Regions from separate parts of the Homo sapiens genome. Here all the other regions are linked to region 1. The links are contacts of gene promoters, found by promoter capture Hi-C in blood cells and fetal thymus (Javierre and others, 2016). All regions are on one chromosome and are shown on one strand. The core of a region is centred on a gene start or on the middle of the fragment in contact, and the rest is flanking DNA. Distances in the headings are between cores, read along the strand shown.

Evidence for each region. Contacts are between HindIII fragments. The CHiCAGO score rates a contact against its expected background, and 5 or more counts as called.
Region 2: a contact is called between a fragment that was not itself captured here and the fragment with the promoter of TMX1 in region 1, in 1 of 17 cell types (M2 macrophages). The highest score is 5.2, in M2 macrophages.
Region 3: a fragment that was not itself captured here is called in contact with the fragment with the promoter of TMX1 in region 1 in 1 of 17 cell types (naive B cells); the score reaches 6.1 in naive B cells.

Annotation. Positions count from the first base shown.
Region 1 is chr14:51,238,979-51,241,692 of GRCh38, forward strand. It overlaps TMX1 (thioredoxin related transmembrane protein 1), which reads left to right and starts at 1,269. Exons shown (of 8, transcript NM_030755.5): 1 at 1,269-1,466. The coding sequence starts at 1,315. RefSeq lists a silencer at 1,105-1,447 and an enhancer at 1,308-1,547. The HindIII fragment of the contact is 7,115 bases long and covers 1-1,951 here.
Region 2 is chr14:51,783,812-51,786,563 of GRCh38, forward strand. The region is part of intron 1 of LOC101927598 (a long non-coding RNA gene); the gene reads left to right. Among named protein-coding and RNA genes, the nearest start is that of GNG2, 75 kb to the right of the region's middle. The HindIII fragment of the contact is 659 bases long and covers 1,067-1,725 here.
Region 3 is chr14:51,843,039-51,845,781 of GRCh38, forward strand. It overlaps a transcript of GNG2 not described here. Among named protein-coding and RNA genes, the nearest start is that of GNG2, 16 kb to the right of the region's middle. RefSeq lists enhancers at 1,149-1,288, 1,329-1,418, 1,439-1,538. The HindIII fragment of the contact is 4,692 bases long and covers 1-2,743 here.

The DNA of each region.
Region 1 (2,714 bases), core at 19-2,518:
ACAGCAAGATAGTAAAGTGTTTCAAGGGTGTGGTAGAATGGGGCTAGGAGTCATGCTAGATGCATTGAGAAGAAACAATTGGGATTTATCTTGCTGGTCGCTGGTGTCCTTGAGAGGGCTATTCAGTGGAGGGGTGGGGAAGGGGACTAATTGGGGTTAATTAAGTTGAAAAGGTGAGGTAAGATAGTGGCAACTATTTCCTTGAGACTTAGTCTCTCTCTATAGCCCAGATTGGAGTGCAGTGGAATGATCTCGGTTCACTGCAACCTCCGCCTCCCGGGTTCAAGCGATTCTCCTGCCTCAGCCTCCTGAGTAGCTGGGACTACAGGCGCCTGCCACCACGCCTGGCTAATTTTTGTATTTTTAGTAGAGACGGGGTTTCACTATGTTGGTCAGGCTGGTCACAAACTCCTGACCTCAAGTGATCCGCCTGCCTTGGCCTCCCTGTTTTGCTAGGATTACAGGCGTGAGCCACCGCACCTGCAACTATTTTCATTTGACTGATGGGGCAGTGCACATTTTGGTTTGCATTTGTATTTACGAATGTTTGAGAGAAAAAACTCAAATATCTTACAAGCCTATGTGTCTGGTTCCATTTTGAAGTACTGACCTAGGATCTCTGTACCTACTGAATTTTTTTTGAGAGATAACATACACCTGAAAGTGCATAAAGTGCACTGTCTTAAAATGTACAGCTTGATCCTTCTTTAAAAAAAATCATATACGTACGCCCATGTAACTACTGTTCATATCTAGATGTTGAACACCTCCAACACATCCAACATAACCATAATGTTCCTCTGCACCTTCCCTGTCTATAATCTCTCAGAAGTAAACCAATATTCCGACTCCTATAAAATCCATTAGCTTTACTACATGTTTCAAAGAAAACAAATGAGAACTCTGAAGGACATTTAATTGGAAAACTGCTTTAGCACATTATAAACTTACCAATTTGCTTGTAAACGCTAACCATTTGGCGCCAAAATCCTGGGAGGGTCTTTTAAACCGTTCTTCCTCAAAGCACCGCCCCACTTTTTACACCACGCCTCCTTTTGCTCTGTTCCTTCCCCCACAATATTGGGACACCCTAGGCGGTAGAAGCAGCCGCTTTTCTGTCATGCGCATTGCGGAGAGTCGTTCTTCCCTCTTTCCCGACTTCACCACTCACTGGGATCAGACCCCTGTCATGCGCATTGAGAGTCCTCTAGACAGGCGCTCCTCGCAGCACCGTAGTGCGCTTGCGCTGAGCAGCCCGCGAGGGCGGAAGTGGGAGCTGCGACCGCGCTCCCTGTGAGGTGGGCAAGCGGCGAAATGGCGCCCTCCGGGAGTCTTGCAGTTCCCCTGGCAGTCCTGGTGCTGTTGCTTTGGGGTGCTCCCTGGACGCACGGGCGGCGGAGCAACGTTCGCGTCATCACGGACGAGAACTGGAGAGAACTGCTGGAAGGAGACTGGATGATAGAATTGTGAGTGCGGGGCGGCCAGGGTCCTACGTCCGTGCCTGGACACACGACTTCACCCCGCACGTTCCTCGTGCGGGTCGCAGGCTCCCCAGGACTGCGCCTCCGAGTTGCGGAGCGAGCGTCCCCGACTTCTGCAGCTCCCCAAACTCTTGGGATCTGCCGCCAGCTTGGTCCCACCCCCTCGTCTCTTACCCGTGAATGTTAAGTTTCTTCTGGGGTGCACCCTCGTTTCGTTTCTTGGGTTGTGGTGCGCCCAAAGGGTTAGTGCCAATGCGAATTCTGACATTTTTCATGACTTTGAGGATGCGACTGGGGCGCGGGGAGGGAGGTGTCCGACTCGTGTCTAAGTAGTTAAAGTGATTCTTCACAGACTTCTACACTTATTTTCACCACATTTTACATAAGAGAATATTGAGCAAAATTTCTCCTCTCGTTTTGTCTGTCCTTAAAAGATAGTCTCTTTATGGTGTTGGAATTTGGCGCTTTTAAGCTTTTTTTAATGGATTGGGTACGTTTCTTTTTTATTGTAAATACTGAGTCAATTCAAGTTGGGTTATTTTTAAGTTTTCGTTTTCTCTTTTTGCCTCCTCTTTTGCTTTCTCTTTTTTTCACTCCTCATCTCATTTTTCCTTTGGGTGTCTTTGTAGTGTAGAGAATACCTTGGGTTGTGACTCCTAGGTCTTTGTAAATGGTATTACATTAAAAGATAATGTATTAATGTATACACTCTCAAGAGCGCCAGGTCATCATTTATTGCTCGAACGAAATCATGTATTTTGTGTGGTGATTTCAATTTAATAATATCTGTTCTGCCGCGGTGGGAAATAAAGTATCTGTCTTTGCTTTAGATGCTAAGTCGTTGTTGATGGTGGTATTATACATATTAGCAGTATTTACTGATAATAGTAAAAGCATAATTATTAACAGTGTACTGGACACCACTAAGCACCTTTACACGAATACCATATTTAATTCCCTACAAATTCTCTATGACAGGTGTTTTTCACGTTTTACAAATGAGTAACAAGATACCTAAATACTTTAGTTAACCTATGCAGATATTGCTGTGCTGGCTTTCTTTGGGTCTTCAGAGTAGGCATACAATAATTGTTGTTAGAACACCTTCTTCTTTAAAAAGGTTCAGCTGGAAGTGGCGTACGCTACCCAGGAGATTGAGGTATGAGGATGACTTGAGCCCAGGGGTTCAAGAGATCCTGGGCAACTAGCAAAATAAATAAGTAAATAAATAAA
Region 2 (2,752 bases), core at 146-2,645, 540 kb after region 1:
AAAATTCTCAAGTTTTGATTCTCATAGATCAAATCTTACTTTTGTTCAATTCTTTATTGTGTAAAGCCACAAAAAATGTGATCTCATGGCAAATTTACTCATTTGGAGAAGATGGACGGGGTGCTGTTTCCTCTGTAATTCTGATAGTTCCCAAGTGATTTCGTAATACATGAATCAGAGGACGTGGCTATGTCCTCTGTATTTAGACAGAGGAATTCATTTTTCTGATAAATCCCATCGTGTCCCCAAACAGAAAGTGGAATCAAAGACTATGGGATATTGGTGGTTGTAAGCAGAAACCCTAATGATCTACCATATATGCTTAGCTTGACTTCATTAACTTTTTGAAAATGAACCTGCTGGGAAGACAAATCTAATGTCATCCATTAAATAAGAAAAATAAAAATTAAATCATAAAAGTGAATGTGGCTGGCGTGAAAGCAAACAAAATGAAAAATGTTTTATTACACTTCCTTATTTCAAAGCAGCCTTTTAATTAAGATTTCCTCCAACAGCAAAACTAATTTGATAAGTTTATACAGCCAGCACATTTCAATTTACACTTTCAGAAAGTGACTCTTTTTCATTTATAAGGAATTTATGTACAATCTCCAGGAAGGAAATAAGGATAAAGGCAAAGGGGCACACCTCCAAGTGGGATGTGAAGATTCTTCCTGTGCAGGTGGAATAGAGTGAACAGTAACATTTTCCATTTCTTAGACTATATTTTATCCTGTCTGTTTTTCTCATTCCTAGCTATTAGGCTGATGCAAATGTAATTGTGGTTTTTGCATTGTTGAAATTTGACATTTGGTATTGGAATACATTCTTAAATGTGGTTATGTTATACATCATTTTAATGTGCATTTCTTGCTTTATGTTTTTTTCCTAATGACTAATTACTGTTTGAGAAATATTGTTGGAGGCATCAGGCTAGCTCTGGATTTTATCCCTCCTTGGAGTTGTTGATGGCAGTAGGGTTCTGAATACCATTAGCATTTTCAGTTGCCAGTTTCCATGAAAATGGGGCAGCATGAGTTTTATAACTGCTCAAAATATCAATTCAAGCTTTATCTTGATAGCCAGTGATCACTAGAACATATAGTACTGACCCAGCTTCTCGGATCTCTTAGAAGTGACTTAATTACACAATTGAACAGCTGCTAGAATCAGCCAAAGACACAGGGGGAAAAAACAGTTAAAGGAGAAACAAGACAAGATTAATTTCTGGTCTAACTCATTAAGACCTCCTGCTGTCATCTTTTGCCAAACTACTGAGCCTTCAATTTTTTAGAAAATGATCACATACCTCCAGCTACTCTTATTAGTTCTCTTGATTTTGCAGAAATCACAACAACCCCAGAAGTCATTAAAAGCACCCAGAGCATATAATTTGTTCAAAATGGGAAAAGCCTTCCCAAAGAGACAGGACTGGTCCACAGGGCTTTTGCCCTTCTCTCTGATGGTGTTCCCAAATACCTCTTGCACTCTTTCCATTCTTCCCTCCTCCTTCTCCTACTTGCTCTTCTCTCCTCTTTCCATCTTTCTCCCTATCCTTGTCCCCCTCTGGCTGCCATGTTGAGGCTAAAGATGGTGTATCAGGGACATAGATCTACAGCTACTTTCAATGTTCTTATTGAGCAATCTGTATCCATTATCTCACTTAATCCTTACAATAACCTTGAGACAAGGTATTTCTCCCCCTTATACAGGTATAGGAATTGAAGCTTAGTGAGGCTATGTAATTTACCTAAGGTCATTGTACTGGTTATTAAGCCATTTTCTTTCCGTTTCAAACCTGCCCTTTTGTACTCTGCTTTGTGATGCCGAGGTGGGGATTCTGCAAACCACATTTCTGTATGGTCAGCTGGCTGGTGTTTTGTTGGCATGCCAGAAGGACAGTGAGGCTGGATGAGGGAGAGGAGACTTGCTCCCTCCTATTTGCCTCCTGTTTCTGCCTGCATCATCTCAATAATGGTTTTTCACCTCAGCAACAGCCGTTTTCTTTCTTTTTAAACTTTTATGTTTGAGGGTACATGTGCAGGTTTGTTATATAGGTAAACTCATGTTAGAGGGCTTGTTGTACAGATTATTTCATTATCCAGGTACTAAACCTAGTATGCAATAGTTCCTTTATCTGCTCTTCTCCATCCTCCCACCTTCTACCCTCAAGGAAGCCCCAGTATCTGTTGTTCTCTTCTTTGTGTCCATGAGTACTCATCATTTAGCTCCCACTTATAAGGGAGAACATGTGGTATTTGGTTTTGTATTACTGCATTAGTTTCCTAAGGAAATTAATCCATCCATGTTCCTGCAAAAGATGTGATCTCATTATTTTTTAAGGCGGCATAGTATTCCATTGTGTATATGTACTACATTTTCTTTATCCAATCAGCAATCATTTTCTACCCTCCTGGAATGAACTCCTCAGAAATACCAGCACCAGTCCACTGGCACCTACTCCCCAGAAATCCAGGTCCCAATTATGAAGGGTTTCTACTCCAAGCCTCTAGGTTCTAATAACTTCATCCTCTTCTCTTTCCCCTTGCCTTTGTTGGAAACAAGTGCTCGGCACCACAAAGAAGAACCAGCACTCAGAGTTTCTCAGCAAGGCAACTTTACTTCTGCAGAAGGGTGCTGCTTACATCCATCACAATTGCAAGAGCACACCGAACAAAGGAGAGAAGGGATTTGTATCCCTAAAGCAGTTCCTGTTTCTGTGTCCTTCCCCCTATTGGCTGGGGCTGGACCG
Region 3 (2,743 bases), core at 224-2,723, 600 kb after region 1:
AGCAGGCTGAGATGTTGCAGCTAAAGACCGCAGAAGAGACTAACAACCCAATTAAGTTATAATTAGCTGAACTATTTCAGGTGTTTTTAATCAATGCTCTCCTTTCCGTAAATCATAGGAAAGGTCTTCAGGGGAGAGGGAAGAAATGATGCTTCTATATTAATGCAAATATACACTTGTTGAAGGGCTGGATGAAGGCACAAACATCTACTTGGTTGTCTTACTCTTGGAATTAATGCTGACCTCCTCTTTCTTGCTCTTCTCTCTCTCTTACCTCCTCACAGACATACCCAGACACCTGACTGCCAACTGCTATAGAAACCCCTCATATAGAACAATGAGAACACATGGACACAGGGATGGGAGCATCACACACTGGGGCCTGTCGGGGGTGAGGGGAGGGAGAGCATTAGGACAAACACTTGATGCATGTAGGGCTTAAAACCTGGATGACAGGTTGGTGGGTGCAGCAAACCACATGGCATATGTATACCTATGTAACCTGCACGATCTGCACACGCATCCCAGAACTTAAAGTTAAAAAAAAAAAAAACTCAAATATTTTGAGTGTGTCCACTCTGCTCCTGCCCTCAACCCTACTTTCTTTCAATGCCTATCCCACACTGTTATGGGGCAGTCTTTCCAACATGCAAACCCAGTCACATCAGTCCTCTTGACTAACAGTTTTAATGGTTCCTCATGTTTCCATTTTGATTGAATTGCCATGGAAGGTATTTCCTCAATTAACCCCAGCCCACCTCTTCAGTCCACCCCACCCACACAGCCTGGCCTTTTGGTCCCACTATGCCAAGCTATTCATGGCTCACAGAATAAGCCATGCTCTGCCCCAACTCATGCTTCCAAGCAGCCAGTGGCCTCAGCCTGCAAGGCCCCCTTTCTCCTCCCCACCCCTTGGTCACCACCTTGGTTTCCACCGTGGCTCTAAAGACTCTTCTGGTGACTCAGGCAAAGGAAATGTATCTCCTTTCTGTGCATCTCCTGGCTGTGTGTTCTCTTCTCAGTTCGCTCTGCTCCTTCCTACTTTGTTCTCGTGGCTGTCCCAGATATTCAACCAGTTTGATTGAAGACATTCAATTTGTTGAGGCAGAAACATGGAGCAGTTTTATCTTGCAAATGGCTGCTACCAGCTGTGTGTTCCTGTCACTGGCTCTCCTTTCCCTCTAGGGACCCAGTCCCCTTAACAATATTTGATTCTCTGTCATAACTCATAAGTCGTCACTTGTGTTTATTAAAACAATCTGGTCTGGTTTCCCATCTCATATATGGTTCAAACTCTCTCTCCCCAGGGTAAGCTGGACTAGGCTGGGTAGGGGGCAGATCTTATGTCTGAGACTGTCCCCTTCTGACTCATGATGTCACAGTGAAGAGGAGGAGGAGTTTCTCTAAGTCATTGTTTTCTTCATTGGCTTCAGTGGAGCTGAAGTTGCTGGTGACTCTGCTGTTGTTGACAGCCCTGTGTGTGTGTGTGTGGGTGGAGAGGAGTGTTATATAAAGAGTTAATATGGTCAGATGGAAGCCCCAAAACCTCCACGGAAGAGGACTCAGTTCCAAGAAGGTCCCCTGAGCATTGGTGGTTCCTTCCCGGGAGAACCTACCATAGTTTCCAGCTGACTCCCAGCTGGAGGCACCACACCATGGCCTTGGTATCTGTTCCTCTTTACCTCCTGCCACAATTTCTTTTTTTGAGGCAGAGTCTCACACTGTCACCCAGGCTGTAGTGCAATGGCATGATCTTGGCTCACTGCAACCTCTGCCTCCCAGGTTCAAGTGATTCTCTTGCCTCAGCCTCCTGAGTAGCTGGGATTACAGGCGCACGCCACCAGGCCCAGCTAATTTTTTGTATTTTTAGTAGGGATGGGGTTTCACCATGTTGGGCAGGCTGGTCTCAAACTCTTGACCTCGTGATCCTTCCACCTCGGCCTCCCAAAGTGCTGGGATTACAGGCGTTAGCCACCATGCCCAGCCCTCCTGCCACAATTTTTATTGAAACAACTTGGTGCTCTTGCTTTGATTTAAAATAGATAAAAAACACTGAATTTATTGTGAATTGTTTTTTTTCTCTTGGCTCTCTTAAAAATCTGTTTCTCTATGGGCTAAATTAGTGTATCATATGGGCCAAATCACTTTTTAAAAATAGGTAATTTTCAATCATAAATAAAGGCTGGTGCAGTGGCTCATGCCAGCACTTTGGGAGACCAAGGCAGGTGGATTGCTTGAGCCCAGGAGTTTGAGACCAACCCGAGCAACACGGCGAAGCCCTATATCTACAAAAAAATACCAAAATTAGTCAGGCATGGTGGTGCGCATCTGTGTGGTCCCAGTTACTCAGGAGGCTGAGGTGGGAGGATTGACTGAACCCAGGAGGTCAAGGCTGCAGTGAGCTGAGATCATACCACTGCACTCCAACCTGGGTGACAGTGAGACCTGTCTCAATAAATAAATAAATATCCATGGATCTTTAAACTATAATTAGATCTTAGAGGCAATCTTGCCCAGCATTTCTCAAAGTATGCTCTGAAGAACTACGAGAGATTCTGTGAAGGCAGTACTCAGTGGCCAAATACGTTTGGGAAATGCCATTCTTATTCTGTAGAACTCCCTCTCAGAGAGTCATCCCAGATGTCAGAATATCAAAAGCCCCGAGAAGTCCCATGGTAAATAAACCTGGTCAATGTTCTTGAACCTAAGATTTTGCAAAATGATTTGAGCTCTGAATTCCCCA